Regions from separate parts of the Homo sapiens genome. Here regions 1 and 2 are each linked to region 3. The links are contacts of gene promoters, found by promoter capture Hi-C in human tissues and cell types (Jung and others, 2019). All regions are on one chromosome and are shown on one strand. The core of a region is centred on a gene start or on the middle of the fragment in contact, and the rest is flanking DNA. Distances in the headings are between cores, read along the strand shown.

Region 1 (3,049 bases), core at 250-2,749, 95 kb before region 3:
TTGCATCAGGACTTGTAAATCGATCATATCCTTTGACTCACTAAAAAGCATGTGAGGGAATAAATCCAAAGAAAATCATTTGAAAGAAAAAAATTCATTGTTTTTTATCTCCCTGGGCAGCTTTCACTCCCAATATACTGCTTATAAATGGGTTTATTCTAAAGATGATTAAAAGCTGGAATATGTTTTCCTGCAGAAAAATGTTGTCACTAGCAATGACATTTGCAGGCTGCCCAGAAAAGCCACACACCATGGTGTTACCTATTGAATACAGGAAAATAAGAAGGAAAAATACTTCTGCACACCCCAGACGTCTCTGATCTTCTTGAATGTCCTCCTCTTCCCATCTTTCTCCCAACCAGAAGCCATTGTAAGCCCTCAAGGAATGGTAGTGGACACTAGAAACAATAAAATCAGTTTGACATATCAAAAATTTTATCTTAAATTTCAGTGACCATTTAAGGAAAAGGAAGTTTGTTCAGGAGGCTGGGAAGAAGGATACTGAATTGGATTTTTTACCTTTCTTCAGGACGCTTAATACTTTGATTCATATGTGAAAAGGATACAGCTTGATTTATTATATTTCATCAGTCATGCCCTAAATATATATATATAAAACAAATATATATTGAACAGAAACATATGTGAATTCTGAAGGAAATGTCCCCACTTATATTCACTAGACCATAATAGAAAGCTTAGTTCTTAGGGCTGGATCTTTTTTTTTTTTTTTTTTTTTTGAGACGGAGCCTTGCTCCACCAAGGCTGGAGTGCAGGGGTGCAATCTCAGCTCACTGCAACCTCTGCCTCCTGGGTTCAAGCGATTCTCCTGTCTCAGTCTCCTGAGTAGCTGGGACTACAGGCGCCCGCCACCACGCCCAGCTAATTTTTTGTATTTTTAGTAGAGATGGAGTTTTGCCATGTTGGCCAGGCTGGTCTTGAGCTCTTTGGCCTCAAGTGATCCACCTGCCTCAGCCTCTCAAAGTGCTGCGATTACAGGCGTGAGCTACTGTGCCCAGCCTTGTATTTTCTTATGTAGGCCTAAAAACCTCTGAAATGTCATTTCTTGGATTCTACAAAACATGAGTTTGGATTTTTTTGAATGAAAAAAGTTCCATTTAGTGAACAGCACATCACAAAGGTTTTTCACTGATGTTGTTATTCACTCTGCCTGTTTGCTGCTCAGCCATGATTAAGTTCGTTGCATACAGCTTATAACAGAGAGGCAGAGGGAAAAGATAAACACCAGGCCTGAGAGAGAGACTTGCTGAGATAATTGAGCAAGGGCTGGCAGAAAGGAGAGAAGCAGGAGGTCATTAAAGAAGACCATCGTCTTTGGGGTTTGGGAATTGGCACAAGGCATATAACCCACTGATTCTCTGATGTGTGACAGGTGAGTAGCTCAGGCCAAGTGACTGGCTTCCTCATCCATCTGGTCTGTGGCTGAGCTGGGACTACAGCCAAGTTTCCACACTCTGTTTAAATACCTAAGAGAAAGAGATCACCCTGCACGGAATGAGTTGACCTAAGAGGAGTGAAAGAGATAAACAAAGGATCTTTGTTCCTGATTTCCCTGAAGGAAGCCAAATGCAATAGGGAGATGTAGGGTATGACACATGCCCAGAGCAGCCAGCAGGTGGCACCATCGGTCCTGTGAGAGGCAAGCGGGACGCAGCCTGTACAAGCCTGGTGCTGTGTCCCCGGGACAGTCCTGAGTTGCTGCGTTACACGGAAGACACTTACCCCTCAATAAATATTTCTGAAATGGTAAAAATCAGACCCTGATCTCTTTAAAACATGTCTTTAGGAAAAAGAGACTTTTCTGATGACTTGCCTGTCATTCTGTTATCTTTTGTAGGATGGATCTTTATTTCACGAACAGTCCAAGAAATGTGTCCAGGCTGCGAGGAAGGAGTCGAGTGACAGTTTCGTTCCACTCTTACGAGACTGCACCAACTCGGATCATCAGAAATGGTTCTTCAAAGAGCGCATGTTATGAAGCCTCGTGTATCAAGGAGCCCATCGAAGGAGACTGTGGAGCCAGGACTCTGCCCAACAAAGACTTAGCTAAGCAGTGACCAGAACCCACCAAAAACTAGGCTGCATTGCTTTGAAGAGGCAATCATTTTGCCATTTGTGAAAGTTGTGTTGGATTTAGTAAAAATGTGAATAAGCTTTGTACTTATTTTGAGAACTTTTTAAATGTTCCAAAATACCCTATTTTCAAAGGGTAATCGTAAGATGTTAACCCTTGGTATTTAGAAAATTAAAACCTTATAATATTTTTCTATCAAGATGTATATTTTACAGTCGTGCCTTTTACTCTCATTAGCAAAAAAGATAAAGATTTTATTTTGGTATTTACAAGAATTCCCAGGTACGAAGATATCTGCATGGGTGGAAATCAGGTTCAAGCAACGTACTTTGCATTAACTGATAATACCTCAGCTGCGGGGTTAAAGTTTTCCCAGTATAGAGAGACTGTCACTAGGAACATTGTATTGATTTATTCAGGTCATTGAGATCTTCTAGATGTATTTTAAAAAGAATGCTTTTTGGTTATGTGTTGCTACCACAGTTAACACTCCATAATGTTCATGTCAGCCAAAGAGGACTAACCAAAGCTGAAATCTCAGAGAACAATTTGCTTTACTAAGCTGAGTCAACTTGAGAGCGAACTTCTAACAATGCCGCACTGTAGTGTGGCTGGTTCTACCACTATGACTTTAAAACATGTTTATATCATTTTTAATTTTTATGATACGGTAGTGTCAGGGAGAAATGTAATGTTCTATATGAAATTCCTTTTTCAAGTTTGTTCATTAATAACAGTTATTAATTTAAATCAGCGTTAGAGTTTGTGCTGCTGCAACTGCTGTGAAAATTTCTCTGAGTAATTCTGATTTGTGAATGATCCCAGACCAACCCTGAGATTTTGTCAACCTGATTAAGTCAATATGAATGATTAAAAAGATGTGAGAACACTGACTGCAGATCTTTTTGTACTGTAAACCAAAAATAAAATTCTAGGGCCGGGTGCGGTGGCTCA
Region 2 (2,755 bases), core at 69-2,568, 120 kb before region 3:
CCCCACCACATGACTACCACATCTTGGGGGGCAGGTGGCAGCGGGGATTTGGGGGAGGTAACCAATGTCCTCTGTAGAGTCCTTCCTGGAGTGTCTGTAGGTCCTAGCCACAATTCTAGTTTATGCATTTGGGACACCACCTTTGCTAAGCCTAGACAGTATTGGATGCTGGGAGAGGGTAGGGAGTGGTACAGTGGTACATGAGGACTCAGAATACTGTCAGTGGTGCATGCTGAGATGGAGGTGGGCCGGGTGCTGGAGGAGCATTGAGGAGACAGCAACTGCCCAAGATACGTGGTCCCAGGCGTTTCACAAAGGAGAACAGGCCTGAGCTGGGAGCTTGCCAAGTACAGAAGGGAGGAAGGGGCATTCCAGGCAGAGGGAACAGTCTGAGCAAAGGCCTGGGAGTGAGACTGGGGCAGAGTAGACAGAAAGGAGGGCGATGGGGAAGGAAGACGTGCCAGTTCCCTTCCTTCTGATTCTGTCTCGTTTGTATGTTGCTCAAATCAAAAAGTTGCTTGACAGCTTAAAACAATATCCCACAGTAAAAGCTAGGTGGGTGCCATGGTTAGGACCTTTCTTGGAGTCTGCTGGGGCTCCTAGTGCCACAAGGGGAGCTCTGGAAGATCCTTCAGTGGATTATGTCCCCTTCCGCAGGGGACCATGACCTATGTCCCCTTTGTCACTCCATCCCCAGTGCCAGCCTGGGCTAGATCCTGAGTTCCTGAAGTTCCGCTGTATTTGCAGGTGCAAAGAGAAGAAATATGATTATGATAATTTGCCCAGGACATCTGTTATCATAGCATTTTATAATGAAGCCTGGTCAACTCTCCTTCGGACAGTTTACAGTGTCCTTGAGACATCCCCGGATATCCTGCTAGAAGAAGTGATCCTTGTAGATGACTACAGTGATAGAGGTGAGTCCCGGCCAGGGCTCTGGGAAGAGCCTGTCCTTCTGTAGCAGTGTCTGGGAGGTGAGAGTGGGATGCAGGAGGGCTAAAGTAGGCCCAGTAAGGATGGGCTTCCTGTATCCTCCTGTACCCAAGGAAGACCTCAGGGATAGTAGCCCAGAAACAGTAGGCGTGGGAAACTGGAAGGAGCAGGGCATTCTCTTGGCAGTTTCTGGGACTGTTCATTTCATTGGCCAGTGGAGGTGATGTAGGAGGTGAGGTTGCAGGATGGGCAGGGCCAGATCTGGAAGGGCCTTGGAGGCCACCATAAGGGGTTGAGGCTTAAGTGCAAGCTTGATGGGGAGCTTTGCAGACAGCAAGGTCCAGGTCCCTCTGAGGAGCTCACTGAGCCAGCTGTGCGGGGAATGGCCAATGGCAGGGGAGGGGCTGGGTGAGGATGGAGGCAAGGAGGGTGGAGGGGCCTCTGTGGTGCCCACATGCAGCAGAGCCTTGGCTTGGCTGGGACTGGCAGTGCCAACGGAGTAGCATCAGCCCGTGAATCCTTGGGGCCTAGCTGAAGTGAGAGCAGCTAAGCTTAACCAAGGACAAGTGTCAAGTCTGTAACAGCAGGTAGAGCTGTGGGCTTAGTCACTACAGCCTGTCTCAAAGGGAAGCAACCCCTGCTGATGGGGCATCTGCTGCCTCAGATGCTGCACTTGCTCTGACTTCAAAACTGGCCTCTGTGTGTTCTAATAGGTGTGTGCATTGGGCTGTTTTCACAGACTCAATAGTGACTCACACAAGATAGAAACAGGCTTCTCACATCACAAATCTGGTGTGCTAGTCTAGAATGGGTGTGGTGGCTCCTTGGTGGATGGGGCCTCAGCTCCTTCTGCACCTGTTCCCACCTTCTCTAGGGTGCTCTGCTGCCTTGGTCCTCATGGACCAGGCTGGTTTTTCACCTCCTACTCACTCTGGTCAACCAGAAGACTTAAAGGGGAAGGAGAGCCACACCCTTCCTCCCGAGGGCACTGCTTGGAAGTTCTCCACACATCCCATTGAGCAGAGCGTGGTTGCCTGGCCACGTGTAGCTGCAAGGGAGGCTGGGAGCTGTGGCCTTTATCCTGCTGGCTGTGTGTTCAGTTACAGGTCACAGGGAGAATGGGTTTAAGGCACAAGGAGCAGTGTCTGTGACAGCGTGTAAGCCAGGCTGGGGTAAGCCAGGCTGGGGTTTGGTGCTGACTATAGCCTAGAAGGCATTGGGTTCTGGGGTCAGGGCACCTGGGTCTGAGACGATGATCCAGTTATGGCACCTTGGGCGAGTTGCTTGTCTTTTCTGAGCCTCAGTTTCTCACCTGTGAATGGGTCTGTCCACACCTATCTCAAGAGAATTATAGTGGGGAATAAATGGGATCATGTATAGGACAGAACCTCATGTAGCAGCCGGCACATAGTAGGTGCTCATCTGCATTTCCTTTTTCCGTTTCCCCCCAGGGTCGTTTTAAATCTCTCCGTGTGGACATTGGTTCTGGGCCACACTGCACGGGCTTGAATCCCCCTCCCCCAACACCTAGCGACTAGACAACTTTGAGCAATGACCCTAACCAGTTTCAAACTTGGCTTCAGCCTCTATAAAATGGGAATAATGATAGCTTCTACCTTGTAGGATCATCGTGAGCATTGAATGAGATGAGGAGGGTAATGTGCTGGGTAGGTGCTTGGCATTTAGTGAGCTCTTGTTAGATGATAACTTCTATTTTTATAATGTTTAAATGTTTAAAAAGTTGCAAAATGAAAAAAACAGCATTTCACAAATATATTAATCTAAAGTCAAAGAGCGGATTATTTATTTTATAATAATGGGA
Region 3 (2,865 bases), core at 209-2,708:
CCTCACCGCCCAGGCTGGCATGAACCCTTTCATATCCGAGTGCTCTGTGTCTCCACTGCGATTTTGCTCTTGAGGGTGGAGAGTGAGTCTAATCTTCTTGCTTACTGGCAGGCAGCATGGCTGAGTGGGGAGGAGCATGGGTGTTGCATCTGCCATTCATTAGCCTTGGAATGTTTTGAACCTCAGCTTTCTTATCTATGAAATGGGGATCATGACAGTATCACCTTTCCATGGCTGTTGTGGGTATTAAATGAGATAACACAGCTAAAGCATTTAGCAGAGGGCTTGGGACATAATCCACACCAAGTAAGCATTAGTTGCTTATATCCATTCCCATGCCATCTCCTCTGCAAGGCTAACTCACTTGGCAAGAGGTGACCCATCCTCTAGAGTGGAACTGAATCAAACACAGGAACTGACCACAGAGCCACGGCCCACTGTGGCTACTTGGTGCTTCAGGAAGAGAGGTTTCTAGTGTTTACCTGGCTTCAGAGCTGTCCAGGTCTCAGCCAACTTCAGCGGTGCCTCTTCTCACTCCAAGATCTCACACTATGTGCCGGGTGGTAATCTTAATAAAAAGCGACCATTGAGGGTTTACCCAGTGCCCTGCGATAAGCTCTGCACAGATGGGTTAGTCTGCCCTGAACCGCCTCACTCCCACTGAGGGCTTTCGGAGGCAGAGCCTGGTTCATGACCCCCACATCTCATCACAGGGCCTGGTGTGATGCCTCACCCAAGACTGTGCTCCTTCATTCATCCAGCGTTTATTGGCATCTCCTACTACCTGAGCTGTTTTAGGCAGGGAACAAAGCACAGATAAGCCCTCCTGGAGCTTACATTCTGATGAAGGGGGCAGGCAAGGTATACATAGGGAGGAAAGCCCTGGAATCCAGTACATTAAAAACTTTTATTAGGATTATCTCTGCTGCATTTAGTTGTATGTATCCCTTATGGCCCCCAGGCAGGTCCACTCCTGGGCATTCAAGTCGGTCCATGTGTCAGGCGTGCAGGGTGGGTCACAGCATCTAGGAGCTCAGTGCAGCTTGGGACTTTGGGACATACGCTCCACCTCTCTGAGCCTCAGTCTCCTTGTCCATCATATAAGGAAATCACTGATTCCAGCCTTCCTGGGCTGTGGAGAGGATTCCCTCAGCGGCTGTGAAAGAGTGCTTTCTTGCGGGTCAGCCCCGACAGGACAGACTTAAGGGCGGGAGGGAGCCCATCCCGCTTGCCCCAACGAACGCGGGCGCGGGGCTTTCCTCGCAGGTTACATAAGGCAGCCGCGGGTGGAGGCAGCAGAGGCGAGCGCACGTCCGTCGAGGGGGAAAGGGGCGTGGGGAGGCGGCCGGGGCGGCCGGTATCCCCCGGGCGTGAGTGCGCAGCGCGCGGGGGAGCGCAGGGCGCGGCGGAGTCGGGTTTCAGAGCGCGGGTGACTCGGGGCGCGGGCCGGGAGCCGGGATTCTGCCCGCCGCCGCCGCTGCCGAGCGCCGCCTTTGTTCCCTGCAGGAAGGGCGAGCGCGGCGGCCAGCGCTCAGCGACCCTTCGTCCTCCGCTAAGCTCCAACGCTCTGCTCGACTAGCCGCGCGCCTTCCGGGGCTCCGCAGACCCGCGAGATGGCACCAAGGTAAGACCCGCTTCTCTGCTTCCTCGCGTCCCGGGCCCCTCCAATACTCTTGCCCGCCTCACCTTTTCTCCCTCGGGCACATCTTGCAGGAGGAACAACGGGCAGTGCTGGTGTCTGCTGATGCTGCTCTCGGTCTCCACGCCCCTCCCTGCTGTCACCCAGACCCGCGGTGCGACAGGTAAGCAACCCGGTCGGAGGGTGGCACCGGCTGCCTCCGCGCCCGTGGGGGAAGTCGGTTTTGGCGGCGGACGCGGCTGCGATGCGTGCCTCATTCCTGGACATAAAAGGGAGTCTTGCCACTCAGTGCGCACTGGCGGTCCCGCGGGCGGCTACCTCCTGGCAGTGCAGGGGTTATAGCTGTGAATGGGATCCCTGGGCAGCTGGGGCGGTTGGAGCGTTGTCTGGGCACCCGAGATGTCTGAGCTGGGTGCGGAGCCTCCAATCTTAGGCAGAGAGGGACTTCAGAAACAGCGCCAGCGCCAGCGCCAACAGCCTCAGCGCACCCAGCGCCAGCAGCTTAGGTTGTGCGTGCTGGCTGGCTTCTGGTAAGGGCAGGTCTGGTGCCTCTCCGCACACAGGTGCGAAGCATGAACACCGGGAGGGACATCTGGGGCTTTTGCTGCTCAAGAAATAACGGAACTGAATTGCTCGGTTGCTTAACCCAGCTCTGAGTTACCTAAGCGGTCACGTCTATCATGGGCAGTGGCTCCACCGGTGGTGGAAAGAGCTGTGGCCTGGAAGCCAGAGATCTGATCCCTTCCGTTCCCCGGGCCTCAGTTTCTCCAGCAGAACTCAGGCGGTTGGCTGAATAGTAAGATATAAGTTAAAGTAGACCTAAGTTAAAATGGGCCTCGGTTAAGGTCAGACTGCCTGGGTTTGAACTGTGGCTGGCTGAGTGATCTTGGGCAATGGATTTCATCGCTCTGTGCCTCAGTTTCCCCATCTGAAAAAGGCGATTAATTAGACCATTTTACCTTCCTAGAAATGTTGTGAATATTAGAGAAATTAGAAATAATGTGCTTCCCATGATTCCAGTATATACTAGGCACAAAATAAGTGATAGAAATTACTGCTTGATTCTTGCAGTAACTATGTGTTGGAAAGCAATGCAAGTATTTTTATTTTTATTTTAGATTCAGGGAGTGGTCATGTGTGGTTTTTTACAAGGGTATATTGCACGGTGCTGAGGTTTGGGCTTCTATTAATCCCATCGCAATGCAGGTATTTTTATAACATTGAGG

Evidence for each region. The method cuts DNA at HindIII sites, captures the fragments that hold promoters and counts their contacts. A contact is called where the count stands out against the background at its distance.
Region 1: a contact is called between a fragment that was not itself captured here and the fragment with the promoter of COL15A1 in region 3, in 6 of the 25 tissues and cell types used here (H1 embryonic stem cells, adrenal gland, bladder and 3 more).
Region 2: a contact is called between a fragment that was not itself captured here and the fragment with the promoter of COL15A1 in region 3, in 2 of the 25 tissues and cell types used here (mesendoderm cells and thymus).

The regions. Positions count from the first base shown.
Region 1 is chr9:98,847,094-98,850,142 of GRCh38, forward strand. It overlaps GALNT12 (polypeptide N-acetylgalactosaminyltransferase 12), which reads left to right. Exons shown (of 10, transcript NM_024642.5): 10 at 1,859-2,988. The coding sequence ends at 1,999. Among named protein-coding and RNA genes, the nearest start is that of GALNT12, 41 kb to the left of the region's middle. RefSeq lists an enhancer at 1,554-1,848. The HindIII fragment of the contact is 4,468 bases long and covers 1-3,049 here.
Region 2 is chr9:98,822,509-98,825,263 of GRCh38, forward strand. It overlaps GALNT12 (polypeptide N-acetylgalactosaminyltransferase 12), which reads left to right. Exons shown (of 10, transcript NM_024642.5): 2 at 748-917. Among named protein-coding and RNA genes, the nearest start is that of GALNT12, 16 kb to the left of the region's middle. The HindIII fragment of the contact is 3,177 bases long and covers 1-2,755 here.
Region 3 is chr9:98,942,449-98,945,313 of GRCh38, forward strand. COL15A1 (collagen type XV alpha 1 chain) reads left to right here and starts at 1,459. Exons shown (of 42, transcript NM_001855.5): 1 at 1,459-1,624; 2 at 1,714-1,802. The coding sequence starts at 1,614. COL15A1-AS1 (COL15A1 antisense RNA 1) reads right to left here and starts at 2,204. Exons shown (of 1, transcript NR_198999.1): 1 at 1-2,204. The HindIII fragment of the contact is 13,688 bases long and covers 1-2,865 here.